Regions from separate parts of the Homo sapiens genome. Here region 1 is linked to region 2. The links are contacts of gene promoters, found by promoter capture Hi-C in blood cells and fetal thymus (Javierre and others, 2016). All regions are on one chromosome and are shown on one strand. The core of a region is centred on a gene start or on the middle of the fragment in contact, and the rest is flanking DNA. Distances in the headings are between cores, read along the strand shown.

Region 1 (6,604 bases), core at 2,310-4,809, 120 kb before region 2:
TGAGGAAACTGGGGCACAAAAAAGGGAAACACCTGTGCCCAAGGCCACATGGCTAGAAGTAAAACATGCACATGTGTGCATGTACGTGTACACACATACACACACACATACACACACACACATGTCCTAGTGCAGTGCTAGATCCCTAGCAGGCACTCACTCTACTTGTTATAGCTCAGAGAAGTGGGATGGGCCAGAATGATCAAGGAAGGCTTCCTGGAGGAGGTGAGGCTTCATGTGGGTCTTGAGGATGGACAGGATTGGATGAGGAGGAGGAATGGGGAGCACATACCAGGTGAGAAAGATTGCCTGAGCAAGGACTGGGAGGAGACCTGGCCATGGGGAGAGCAAGGGATGGTGAGGGCTGCAGGTGGGATGGGTGTGACACCACCTACCTGCCCCTCCCCGATCTTTGCTTCCCTGCTTCATTTCCAGTTTTCCTGGAGCGGGTGAGAAGACCCCAGACCCTCAGGCTGCCTCCCCTGAGGAGGCCCCCCTGCCTGGGCTATTTGGGGACAACGATGACTGGGACCAGCTACTGAGCAACTTTGGCAGCCCTCCGCACGGAGCCCTGCAGCTCTGCTGGAGCCCGCCCCCGACCCCAAGAGCCACCTCAGGCCCCCAGACACCCCGTGTGGTCAGGCAGATCTCCATCTCGGAGCCACAGGCTTTTCTATTTGGTCAGGAGCCATCTTCAGATCCAGATGGGGCTCCAAGGACCCCACCTGGGGTGACTTTCAGCGCCAAGGACAATAAAGGAGTGGACCCACATGAGCAGGACATTAGAGCAGAGCAGCCTGTTGAACCGCACGACCCGGACCCCAACCAGGAGCCAGGGTCCACACCCGAGGGCCGCCTCCTCTGGGGTCTCTCAGGAAGCCTGGTGGCACCTGCATTCAAAGTGCTCATTCCTTTGGAGGATGGGCCCCCTCCCCCTGCGAACTCTCCCCCTCCCCAGGCCCCAGCTGGGTCCAGCAAACAGATCCAGGCCTCAGACCCAGATGACAAGGGCCCTGGGTCTTGGGCTCCTCCCAGCGGGGCTCAGCCTGGGGCTGGAGCAGGACCCCAGGAACCCACACAAACCCCTCCCACCATGACTGAGCGGGAAACCCAGCCCGGACCCTCACCCACAACTGCCCTCACAGGAGTGGGCCCAGCCAAGCCGCCCAGGCAGAGAGATGCCCTCCAGCAGGACCTGCATGCCACTGGCTCTGAGCCAAGACTGGGGACCCAGAGGGCTAGAGCCCTCACCCTGGGGCCAGCTGAGCCCTTCCAGGGCCTGGAATTTGTGGGTCCGGTGCCCACAGAGAGGCTGGAGCAGGGCCAGGCGGGCCCAGCGGTGCAGGAGGGCCTTCCTGAGGGGCTAAGAGAAGCTCATGGCCAGGTCCTTGGGCTGGGTGAGCTGTCTGCCTTCCCCCACCAGGAGCTGGAAGAGGAACCCAGGTCTGAGGAAGGAAAACAAGAGGGCAGAGGTGGGCAGGACCTCAGTTCAGAGCAGTCAGAGCAGTCGGTTGAGGCTCACGGCCTAGAAACTGCGCATTCGGAACTCCCCCAGCAAGACTCTCTGCTTGTTTCTCTCCCATCTGCCACACCACAGGCTCAGGTGGAAGCAGAAGGCCCCACTCCTGGAAAATCGGCACCTCCAAGGGGCTCTCCTCCCAGGGGGGCTCAGCCTGGGGCTGGAGCAGGACCCCAGGAACCCACGCAAACCCCTCCCACCATGGCTGAGCAGGAAGCCCAACCCAGGCCATCCCTCACGACTGCTCACGCAGAAGAACAAGGCCCGCCTCACTCCAGGGAACCAAGGGCAGAGAGCAGGCTTGAAGATCCAGGAATGGACTCCAGGGAAGCTGGGCTGACCCCATCCCCGGGAGACCCCATGGCTGGAGGGGGACCCCAGGCCAACCCTGATTACCTCTTCCATGTCATCTTTCTGGGAGACTCCAACGTGGGCAAAACATCCTTCCTGCACCTGCTGCACCAGAATTCTTTCGCCACCGGATTGACAGCTACCGTGGGTAAGGGCATTGGGGAGGGCGGCAGGGAGCAAGGAGAGACGCAGGGGCCAGGGCCAACGAGTGAGAGCGGGCCCAGACCAAGCCCTCCCTGAGGAAGCTGCAGGTTCTGCCCTGGCCACGGGCCCTGCATTAGACATTGTTTTATATGGGCATAACCTTACTATTTCACTAATCGTCTCTAATTACAGGTAATTTGTTTTTTCTGCATTGATCTGATTAGCTTATAAGGTGCCACATCAACAATGCACCCTGCAATTTAGGTGCCTGCGAGAGTTGATGGTGAAAACAAGCAAGTATCCACTCATGTGGCCCATGGGCAGGCCAGAGCAGGTTCTGTGCTGGTTGGATTTGCTCATGACTAGCTCCAGGCTGGGCAGCCATGGTCTGGCAAGAAGTCACCTTGGGCAAGTTGGATATTTTACACAGAATGTATTTGTAGAGTGTGGTAAATTAGGAAGCCAGGTGCCTGAGTTCAAATCTTAGCCCTGCCACTTATTAGGGTCTGAATTTGGACAAATGATTTAACCCTTTTGAACCCCCAAATCCTCATCTGCATAATGGGGACAACAGTAGTGCTGCCTTCCTAGAGTGGTTGAGGACTAGTTAATATGTCAAGATCTTAGAATCATAACTGACATGTAGTGAGTACTCAGTAAGTATTAGTTATTATGGTTGTTATTATTATTATAAGTAAATATTTGATCATGTCTAACTCAGTGGCTCCTGCAAGAAATGGCCGAAAGCAGAGAGCCTTCCCTCCCTAAAAGTATCAGGATATGTGGCCACTGAACCCTGTACAGAGCTACAGAAAAGCAAACCCAGCCGGGCGCAGTGGCTCACACCTGTAATCCCAACACTTTGGGAGGCTGAGGCGGGCGGATCACAAGGTCAGGAGATCGAGACCATCCCGGCTAACGCAGTGAAACCCTGTCTTTACTAAAAATACAAAAAATTAGCCGGGCATGGTGGCGGTTGCTTGTAGTCCCAGCTACTCGGGAGGCTGAGGCAGGAGAATGACGTGAACCCAGGAGGCGGTGCTTGCAGTGAGTCGAGATCGCACCACTGCACTCCAGCCTGGGCGACAGAGCAAGATTCCGTCTCCCAAAAAAAAAAAAAAAAAAGCAAACCCGAGGGAATGGAGGGGAGACCCACCTAGGGACAAAGAAGTCACGCCTGTCTTTGTATTAGACCAGGGCACATGCCGACTGGGGATCAGAGCCAGACCAGTCGGTAAATGACAGCCCCCCACAAGAGAGGCCTGGGGCAGGTTCTCAAACTTTTCTTGCCCAAGAAGCCTCACCTGGGAGCTAGTTAGAAATGCAGTTCCCTCGGGAAGAGGAAACCTATAGCAGGCTGGCCTGATGTTGAGTGGGGTCACAGGTTCTACAACACTACCATTATTTTATTTTATTTATTTATTTATTTATTTATTTATTTATTTATTTATTTTTTGAGATGGAGTCTCGCCCTGTCACCCAGGCTCCAGTGCAGTGGCACGATTTCTGCTTACTGCAACCTCTGCTTCCTGGGTTCAAGTGATTCTCCTGCCTCAGCCTCCCAAGTAGCTGAGACTACAGGTGTGTGCCACTTCACCTGGCTTATTTTTGTACTTTTAGTAGAGATGAAGTTTCACCACGTTGGCCAGGCTGGTGACCTCAGGTGATCTGCCCGCCTCAGCCTCCCAAAGTGCTGGGATTACAGGCGTGAGCCACTGTGCCTGGCCAAGGCTACCATTATTAGTCACCTAAGCTACTGTTTACTGACCACCTCCCATGCACTAGGCATCTTCCATACATGTCTTATTCCTTACAACAGCCTTCCTTAGAATGGAGCCTCCTCCTTTATTATGTGGTAAGAAGTTCTCACAAAATTCAATCAAGAAAAACACAGCTGCATAATCGTGAAACCAACCAACCAATCAACCAACCAACCAACCAACCAACCAACCAACCAACCAACCAACCAGGCAAGCCGGCATGCACTGCTAGCCTGCTGGGAGTACCTGAGATCCAAGTGCTTGGTCCAGATCTGTCCCAATCCCAAGCTATGGTTTGCTGCCCCCCGGTGGCTATCGTCTTTTCTGGTTTAAATACCACAGGAAATGATCCTGCCTTCATAGGTCAATATTTCCCTACCTAGTGTCACCTTCCCTCCATTCCTGCTCCCCCACCTCACAAAATAAGAACTCTACCCTGCCTGCATTTGAGGACGGGACCAGATAGAGAATCAGAGCCAACGGAGTTATATTTGAATGTACATTTTCCATATCTATCCCCATTTTACAGATGAGGAAAGCAGAGAATTGAAGACCTGGTTCAGTTTCTTGCCCTAGCTGGGCCCCCAAAGTTAAGGCCACCTACCTTAAAAGCCCTGCCTCCACACCAGAAGTTTTATCCTCTTTTCAGTTCAGAATTGCATGCTCTCTGGGTCACTTAAAACAGCATTTTTTTTTTTGAGATGGAGTTTCACTCTCGTTGCCCAGGCAACAAGATTGTGCAGCTGCGCGATCTCGGCTCATTGTAACCTCCGCCTCCCGGGTTCAAGTGATTCTCTTGCCTCAGCCTCCTGAGTAGCTGGGATTACAGGCATGTGTCACCACGCCTTTTAAAACAGCATTTTAATCCTCCAGCCACTCTGCAGTGTAGGTCTTTCTAATTTGCCACTTTGCAGACAAGGAAAGAGAGGCTCACAGAGGTGAAGTGACTTGCCTGAGGTCCTGTAACCAGTGTAACAGTTGCCTGAAGCCAGCATTCCTTCTGCCCCTCTGGGCTCCTTGTCTCCCCTGCTGTCTCGTTAAGAGAGGAAAGTGCATGCAATAATTAGGGAATGGAACAAAGAGTACTGTAAAAATAAAATAATGAAACTTATATTCTGGGTGGCCTAAGGAATGAACAACATAGACAAGGTGCCCTGTGTTGGCACAACTTGCGGCAGGGAGGTCTGGGAAGGCTTCTTGGAGGAAGTGGGTCCTCGAGTATGGATGGGATGCAGAGCCGAGGGGAAGCCCGGCAGCCAAGGGCTCCATCGCACCGCAGCTGGTACAGGGGACAGGTGTATACTGGGGTAGGCCTTGGCTAGGAGTCCTGGATGGTAACTTAGTAGGCTTCACCCCTCTCTATGTGTCCTAGGAGTAGATTTTCGGGTCAAAACCTTGCTGGTGGACAACAAGTGCTTTGTGCTGCAGCTCTGGGACACAGCTGGCCAAGAGAGGTAACAGGCACTGTATATCAGTGTGTCAGGAACCTAGGCTGAGCGTAGGGGTGCAGAGGGACAGGGAGCAGCCCTAATAACACAGGCAGGAGGCAACTGCCCCCCAAGGATTCAGGAGGTCAGGGAAGGAGAGATGAGTCAAGCCCAAGGCAGGGGAGAGAGGGCAGCAGAGCCAGAGGTCCCTCAGCCTGGCAGGGCATATATTAGGGCTTCCCAACATGGTCATTAGGGGACAGCCACCCAATCACCTGTCCTTCTAAAAATGCTGGTCTTCTACTTTCAACCTAGGCAGTAGTGATCAAAAATTTTTTTTTCTTCTTGAGATGGAGTCTCGCTGTATTGCTCAGGCTGGAGTACAGTGGCGTGATCTGGGCTCACTGCAACCTCCACTTACCGGGTTCAAGCGATTCTCCTGCTTCAGCCTCTGAGTAGCTGGGACTACAGGTGCCCACCACCACATCCAGCTAATTTTTGTATTTTTAGTAGAGATGGGGTTTCATCATATTGGCCAGGCTGGTCTCGAACTCCTGACCTCGTGATCTACCTGCCTCGGCCTCCCAAAGTGCTGGGATTACAGGCATGAGCCACGGCACCTGGCAGTGATAAAAACTTAAAAGGCATATCTTATTTGATTCTGCAGTTCCACTTCTAGAAATTCATTCTATAAATAGACTCATATGACTATAATAACAAAGGGACCAGGACCAGTCATAGTATTCTCACTTGTGTTATGAAACATAGGAAACAACCTAAATGTCCATCAATAGGGGACCAGTTAAATAAAGGAGGGTCAATCTACCCAGTATAACACCATAAAGCCACACAAAGACTGAGGACTCTCTTTATGTACTAATAGGGATTTTTTTTTTTTTTTTGAGACAGAGTCTTGCTCTGTCACCCAGGCTGGAGTGTGGTGGTGTGATCTCAGCTCACTGCAATCTCCACCTCCAGGGCTTAAGTGATTCTTGTGCCTCAGCCTCCTGAGGAGCTGGGACTACAGACACATACAACCACATCCAGCTAATTTTTGTATTTTTAGTAGACACAGGGTTTCACCATGTTGGCCAGGCCGATCTGGAACTCCTGACCGCAAGTGATCCTCCTGCCTCAGCCTCCCAAAGTGCTGGGATTACAGGCGTGAGCCACCGTGCCCAGCCCGATAGGGAAATTTCTCCAAGACATCCTGTTAACTGGAAAAAAACAAAATGCAGAACACTGAATATTAATGAGTATGATGAATGTTTTACACTGTATTTGTATAAAATAGAGGGGGAAAGATGTATGTGTATGGGTGTATATATGTGTGTGTATATATATGTATATACGTAAAATGCCTCTGGAAAAATATTTAAGAAACTGATAACCCTGGTTGCCTC
Region 2 (7,127 bases), core at 4,382-6,881:
AACCTACAGAAACTAGGAAATGAGAAATGGCTGTAGTTCAAAGCCACTAAGTTTGTGGTAATTTGTCACATAGCAATTGAGAACTAATATAATAACCTTAGTTTGAAATATATAAAAGTATTATGTGAGGCCAGGTGCAGTGGCTCACACCTAATCCCAGCACTTTGAGAGGCACAGGCTGGAGGACTGCTTCAGACTAGGAGTTTGAGATCAGCCAATCAGCCTGGGCAACCGAGTATGACCTCACCTCTACAAAACAAACGAACAAAAAAAAATCAAAAAAAATTTAAAAATTAGCTAGATGTGGTGGTGTGTGTGCGCCTGTAGTCCTGGCAACTCAGGAGGCTAAGGCAGGAGGATCGCTTGAGCCCAGGAGTTGGAGGCTGCATTGAGCTGTGACTCTACCACTGCATTCCAGCTTGGGCAACAGAGACTGTATCTCAAAAAAAAAAAAAAAAAAAAAAAAGGAAGGAAGGGAGGGAGGGAGGGAGGGAGGGAGGAAGGAAGGAAAGAAAAAAAAAACAAGTTGTGTTATTTATTTGAATAGGTTAAAAACAGATGGGCTGGGTGCGGTAGCTCATGCCTGCAATCCCGGCAATTTGGAAGGCCGAGGCAGGCCGATCACCTGAGGTCAGCAGTTCAAGACCAGCCTGACCAACATGGTGAAACCCCGTCTCCAGTAAAAATACAAAACTCAGCCGGGCGTGATGGTGCATGCCTGTAATCTCAGCTACTCAAGAGGCTGAGGCAGGAGAATCGCTTGAACCCAGTAGGCAGAGGTTGCAGTGAGCCGAGATTGGGCCACTGTACTCTACCCTGGATGACAGAACGAGACTCCATCTCAAAAAAAAAAAAAAAGTTGAGTGTAGAAATTGCATACGGTTCAGCCTAATATGATGTAAAGTGCCTAGCATGCAGTAGGCACTCAGTAAATGCCACTGTTATTATTCCCCTAGCTCCACTGACCTGAGTACCTTAGTGTATTCAATGGTTAAATGGACTTCTTTTCCTAGCACTGGCTTTGACAGCTGCCGCCCTCCCCCAGGCTCCTCCCTCCCCCAAACCACCCTCTCCCTGCCTGTCAGAAGAAAGCGCTCAGAGCTGTTCACACCCCTTCTGAGAGACCCAGGGCACAGCTCCTGAGCCGGGCTGCCTCTCTGGCTCCAGGGCAACAAAACGCCAACCCGAACAGACAGCAGAAAACAATATCTCTGGGGCAGAACAACAGCTGCCCACCAGCCCCATACCAGCTGGTGGGGAGAGGGAAGCCAGCAGGGCTAAGCAATGGGCTGCTTCCAGACTCGCCCCGCCGCGTCTTCCCTGGGTCTTGGGAACCCACCATGTGGAACTGTGCATTGCTTCTCCAGCAGGACCCTGCGCAAGTGCAAAGGTTTCTTGTTATGTAAAAAATGCAAATCATTCTTTCTAACCAACATGCTGGGCCAGATCCCTGCGTGGAGACCTGAAAAATAGTGGCGCCTTTGGAGAATGGAACGTCAGACAGGTAAGTTTTGATTGACTCGGCAGGATGGCTCACACAGTCAGGAAGGGTCTAGAACAGGCCATCAGAGGAAGGAAGAGCTCTTGGCTCGAGGGAGGAGGGTCTTTAAAGTCACATTTTTTATGATGTCTACTGGTATCTAGTTCCACAAACCATCTGCCCTACTCACTTCCAAAACAACCCTTAAGAATCTCTAGATTGGCAGGGCACAGTGGCTGACGCCTGTAATCCTAGCACTTTGGGAGGCTAAGGCTGGTGGATCACCTGAGGTCAAGAGTTCGAGACCAGCCTGGCCAACATGGTGAAACCTTGTCTCTACTAAAAATACAAAAATTAGCCCTGTGTGGAGGCAGGCACCTGTAATTCCAGTTACTCAGTAGACTGAGGTAGGAGAATCACTTGAACCCAGAAAGCGGAGGTTGCAGTGAGCTGAGATCGCGCCTTTGCACTCCAGCACTCCAGCCTGGGCAACAGAGCAAAAACTCCGTCTCAAAAAAAAAAAAAAGAATCTCTAGATTGATCAGATCTCCAGGACACACACAGACCCTGGGAGCCAGCTATAGAGGCAAATTTTTATTAACTTCCAGGTATCAAATAAGCAACAACATCAGTCGCTATTCATGGATTACTTCATTTAAGCCTCATAACTGATAAGGATCATTATGCTTTCTTTACAGATGGGGAAACTGAGGCATAGACAGCTTAGTAGCTTACCCAAGGTCATAGGAAGAGAGCTGGGATTTGAAACCAAGGAGACAGATTCCAGGGCTCACATTCATAACCGTTGTGCCAAATAACCAAAGGCTTTCTAATCTTGGGCCCTGAGTTTACCACAGTCAGTAAAAATAATTGTTTGGGAGTATAGTATACTCTACCTGAAGCAGGGGCCTGAAACTGTCCATCCCCAGTGTCATTTGCCTTCAGTGGAGACTTGGCCCCGTGGTGGCCCTGTGCTCTGACTCAGATGTGCACCTGTGCCAGGCAGCTTTGCTTAGCTAGCTGAGCCCTAGGATGGGCACAGCAGGTGCAGGATCCTCCCCTAGGCACAGAGCAGAAGAAGGCTCTGTGGTAGGGGAGTGGTAGGCCCCTTCATGAGGAGGAAGGCAAGTGGAAACAAGTGTTCCTGGGAGCCAGAGGTGGCAACTCATAATCTTCCCTGAAACATTGGCCCCTCTACCCCAGCTGCCCATCCTGAAACCCCCTGGAGTTCTCACCTGCCAGCCCCTCTGCCTGCCCTACTGTTCTGGGCCCACCAGCAGGTGTCACTCAGATGCCCAGGGCAGAGCCTCCCCAGAGCCTCCTCTCCTGGAGCCCTGAGAGCGGGTGCAGTGGGGAGGGACTTGACTTTAACTGGCGACCATGGAGTGAAGAATATGCTGGAGAAAGCCACTGTCTGCATTTCTCCCTCCTCCCTGTGCTCCTCTCCTCCTCCTTTTCCTCCTCCTCTTTCTCTCTGTTCTAGAACCTGAATAGTTGGGCCTGGCTGAGGCAGAGAGATGCATCTACAATTTCCAGGCCACCCAGACTGTTTTCTCACCTCCCCTCTGTTCTAAGTGACTGCTCCCTCCTCATCTCTCCCCACCAAAACCCACTTCCCCCCACCTCTGGCTTTCTGGAGAACATGAGCAGGCCCCAGGTCAGGGCCTTCCTCAGCTCATGGATCATGTCCCCCAAAAGGGTATTGACCCAGGGTCAGCCCCAGAACCACATCCCCCAGGAAGGCCTCTTATGCAAGAGGTTTGAGTCCTTTGGACATCTTTACTTCCAGAAAGCAAACAGGAGGGGCCAGGTGCTACCGCCTTCCGGTGATCATTGTAGCTACTTATTGAGCACCTACTGTGTGCCAAGCAAGTGCAAAGTAGCTTGCTAGGTGCTTCATGCTCCTCCACTCCTGCAAGTTAATTCCTCCAACAGTATTTGGCAAGTGCCAGGCACTGCTCTAAGCACATGAGCTACCTTGGTGAACAAGGTTTCTCCATGAGTACATGCTGCTTATTGTTTGTACCTGACAGGTGGGGGAAACTGAGGCTTAAAATTTGCCCCAAGTGGTGAAGCAGAGATTCTGTTTCAAGGTATCTGACTCCAAAGCCACACTATCTGCCCTCCATCTCCTTTCCTCTCCACTGGAGTAGAGGGTGCATGGGTCTGACTCAGGGTGGGAATCCCTGCCCTCAAATGCTTACACAGTTGCTTTGAGAGGGGAGGGATGACGTCTGCACACCTGAGACGTCTCAAGAGGTTTCATCCTCAGTATGTGAGTGACCCTGTGGCCCAGGCTGAGTACCTAGGGCCCACGGGACACAGAAGACAATGATTTGAGCTGTGTGTCTCATGGGTGAGAGGATGCCTGAAAGTGGGGAGCGTGAGGCCAGGCTTTTCAGGAGTGGGGGGATCATGAACTTGGGGAGATAAAGGAAGAGTGAAATCTGGATGGGGAATGGGCTGTTCAGAGGCTTGGAGGTGGGAAGGATCCCAAGACAACTGAAGATGACAGGCATGATTGAAGGCTGGGAGGGAGTGCCAGGCGCAGGGATGTGCGTGCAGGAGAAGGGTGGGGAGGCCGTGCTGCTTTTGATGGCTGAGGAGGTGAGACTGGAGCTAATGGGCCATCAGGAATCTCCCAGCAGAGTAATGACAAGATGCAAATGGCGTTGGGAGATGATCCTGACGGCATGGTGTATGGGACCTGGGAGCTATCACAGGAGCCCCCAGAGGGCCTGGCTTAGGGGGGAAGCTACGTTCAACCAGACTAGCCTTCACTGCCACTTATCCCCAAGTCTTCAAGAGAAAGTCACACTGAGTCCTTCCCTCCTTCACGCCCCTGCCCAGACTCTCCAGCTCTACCTACACCTCATCAATGCCACAACTTTGTAATACAGGACTGGGGGGCAACAAGGTTACCTCTCATGGAGGGTCTGACCAAGGAGCAACCTGGAAGAGGATGAGATGGGTGATTTCGAACAAGGGCACAGCCAGGGCTCCAGAAATGCTGTCGGTGATCTGGGGCAGGGGGCATGGCCTCTGTGGGGGAACCTCAAAGTGGGTGATGCTTGCGTGGCAGCACATGATCCTAGGCCAGCCACAGAGAGACTGAACTAGGGAAAAATCCCCCTTTGCCACCCATACCCTCTTACTGCCAGGGGCAGCCTTCCCCTAGCTAGGAGAACCTGGGGTCGACCCAGCTCTTAGACAGAGAAGTTACCCCCAAACCCTGTGTGACATGAGTGAAGATTTGGGCGTGGTAGCCCACAAAAATATTCCCCCTCCTCCTCTGTTGGACTCTACAGTTTCACAATCAGTGTTCTATTCCTTTGGCTTAAGATTTTTGACCCAAGTTATTTTTTTAATGGTGCCACTTTAAGTTGTTATCATGTATCCACACCTTAGTATGAATGAGTCAATCTGATCCTTTTCCAGGAGTCGATTTCGTTGTTGATAGAGATGAAGGAAGGCTTTAAAATCCTAGAGTCTAGGACAGTGGGGTGGGGGAGACTGGTGAGGGGAGGATCAGGATGCTGGGGCAAAGAAGGGGCAAAGAGAGAAGAGAGGAGGGCACAGAAGGGAGAGGGTGGACGAGCCTGGGAGGGATGGGGGCAAATCACTCACTTCGTGATTTGGGGATGGGGTGATCAGAGATAGCCTGAGCAGAGACCGTAGTACAGCCTTTTACCAACTCCCTCTCCCCACTTGGGTGCCTGGACCCCCTGTTCCTGTGTCTTCATATCTCCTCGATGCAACAGCCTGGAGCGCAAACTTTCTGGGATATGACCCCAGCCTGGCTTCCTATTCTGCCGTCGCCACCCGCAGCTGGACAGGACAGGGGCTCTTGGCAGATCGGCAGGGGCGCAGTCCTGGAGACCAGGACACTCTGGGAAGGGGGCGCGCGGAGGTTTAGGATCGAAGCGGCAGGGGCCGCGGGGCTCTGCGTCCAGGGCCGGGGCAAGGGGACCCGGCCAGCGGGAGGCTCACCTGCAGGACACGGTGATCTCCACCTTGGTGGCCGGGATGCTGCCCGCCAAGGAGTCGAACTCGCTCAGCGACGCCATGTCCTCAGGCTGCTCCATCGCCCACCGCACCCCCCACCCCAAATTAGTCAATCCCTGCGCGATTCACGCCTCCTCCGGAGCGACTGGAGCCCTGGGCTCTCCCCCAACTCCAGAGCCTGGGCTGGGCGGCAAGGGGAGGAGAGAGGAGCGCGAAGAGGGGGCGTGGGAAGTGAGAGAGGGAAGAGGGCGGAGGGAGCGGGGGCCGCGGATCGAGGAGGGGGCTCGGGTGACGCCGCGAGGAGGCTAGGGGCCCAGTGGGGAAGGGCAAGGAGCCCAGGGAGCGGGGGCACAGCGGGGAAGGCAGAGAGGGGCGCGGGGAGAGGGGCTCGGGGAGAGGGCACCGGGAGGGAAACGCGGAGTCGTGGAGAGGGGCACCAGGAGAGGGACGCGCGTCTGTGGGCAGAGGTAGAGGGGATGCAGAAGACAGGGAGAGGGGCGTGAGGAGCGGGAGGCGCCGGATGGGGCGCTGGCGGCGGGGGTGGCGGGGCGCCGGCAGCGCGGAGCCCGAGCGCCCGGGCTGCGCCGCCTCTCCCTGGGTCTTGGCGCCGGCGGCGACGGGGCTGAGACGCGGCTGCGAGCGCCACCTCCTCGGCTCGGGCTTCGGCTCCGGGGCGCCCGGGCTGCGGGAAAATCAAATCTGCCCGAAGCCGCAGCCTCCCGCCGCCCGGGAACGCCAGAGGGGGCGCCCGCAGGGGCCGGGGCGGGGCCGCGGGCGGGGTCTGCGCGCAGGGTGAGTGTGAGCGTGTGTGTGTGCGCGTGTGTGTGTGTGTGCGCGCGTGGCGGGCCGGGGGACGCGGTCCAGATGCTGGGGACGTGGCGGGTGACAGCAAGAGGTGGTCCTGGTCGCGCGCATCTTCATTTGCGCCCGCCCCCTCTCACCACCCCTATCTCCCATCAGGGGTCTCCATCCTGGGGGAGGGGGAGGGTTATGGGAACCAACGGGCGCCTTTTTGAGAAAGGTCTATGCAGGGTTGAGAGGGGGCATAAGTGGGAGGGAGGTGTGCAAAAAAGATCCCCTCCCAGGGGCTTGGGTGTGGAGGGTCTCTGCTGAGTGTGCGCCCTACTCGGGGGCGGGTCTCAGTTCAGAAACAGACCCTACATCTCCTTCTGGGGAGGTGTGTGGGGGCGACCCCAGTGCCAGGAGGGACTACCTCGGTTTCCCAGTGGCCCAGGTGGGGTCGGTGCATGGGCGCCTCCCCCATCCGTGGTTCCCGCCAGCCGCGGCCTCGCCAAGTCGGCTGCCGAAACCACGCGCCAGCGCCCTTCCACTCCCCCGCCCGTCGTGACCACACGACTGAGCCAGCCTCCAGGTCTAGAAGCTCCTGCCACCCAGTCTGGTGGCAACCAGACTGGGAGATCGGCCCGAGCTCCCTGGGCTTCTATGCAGCCAGCACCGAGTAGGCGCGTGCTGTGTGCCTGGCGAGCGAGGGGAGAGTTGGGACACCTCTCCTGCAGTCCTCTTCCCAGCCAAGCCCCTCGCGATCCCCCGCCCTAGCCCAGCCTTGCCCTCCCGGGCATGAGGTTGCAGCGCAGAGGCGTCTCCCTGAGTAAGGCTGCACACGTAGACTTGACTCTAGCCC

Evidence for each region. Contacts are between HindIII fragments. The CHiCAGO score rates a contact against its expected background, and 5 or more counts as called.
Region 1: a fragment that was not itself captured here is called in contact with the fragment with the promoter of CPNE5 in region 2 in 17 of 17 cell types (activated CD4 T cells, erythroblasts, endothelial precursors and 14 more); the score reaches 13.4 in activated CD4 T cells.

The regions. Positions count from the first base shown.
Region 1 is chr6:36,720,716-36,727,319 of GRCh38, forward strand. It overlaps RAB44 (RAB44, member RAS oncogene family), which reads left to right. Exons shown (of 14, transcript NM_001257357.2): 9 at 436-2,018; 10 at 5,147-5,228. Among named protein-coding and RNA genes, the nearest start is that of RAB44, 26 kb to the left of the region's middle. RefSeq lists enhancers at 4,126-4,185, 5,944-6,083. The HindIII fragment of the contact is 9,710 bases long and covers 1-6,604 here.
Region 2 is chr6:36,833,813-36,840,939 of GRCh38, forward strand. CPNE5 (copine 5) reads right to left here and starts at 5,632. Exons shown (of 21, transcript NM_020939.2): 1 at 5,471-5,632. The coding sequence starts at 5,565. RefSeq lists a silencer at 6,096-6,305 and an enhancer at 6,990-7,127. The HindIII fragment of the contact is 11,867 bases long and covers 1-7,127 here.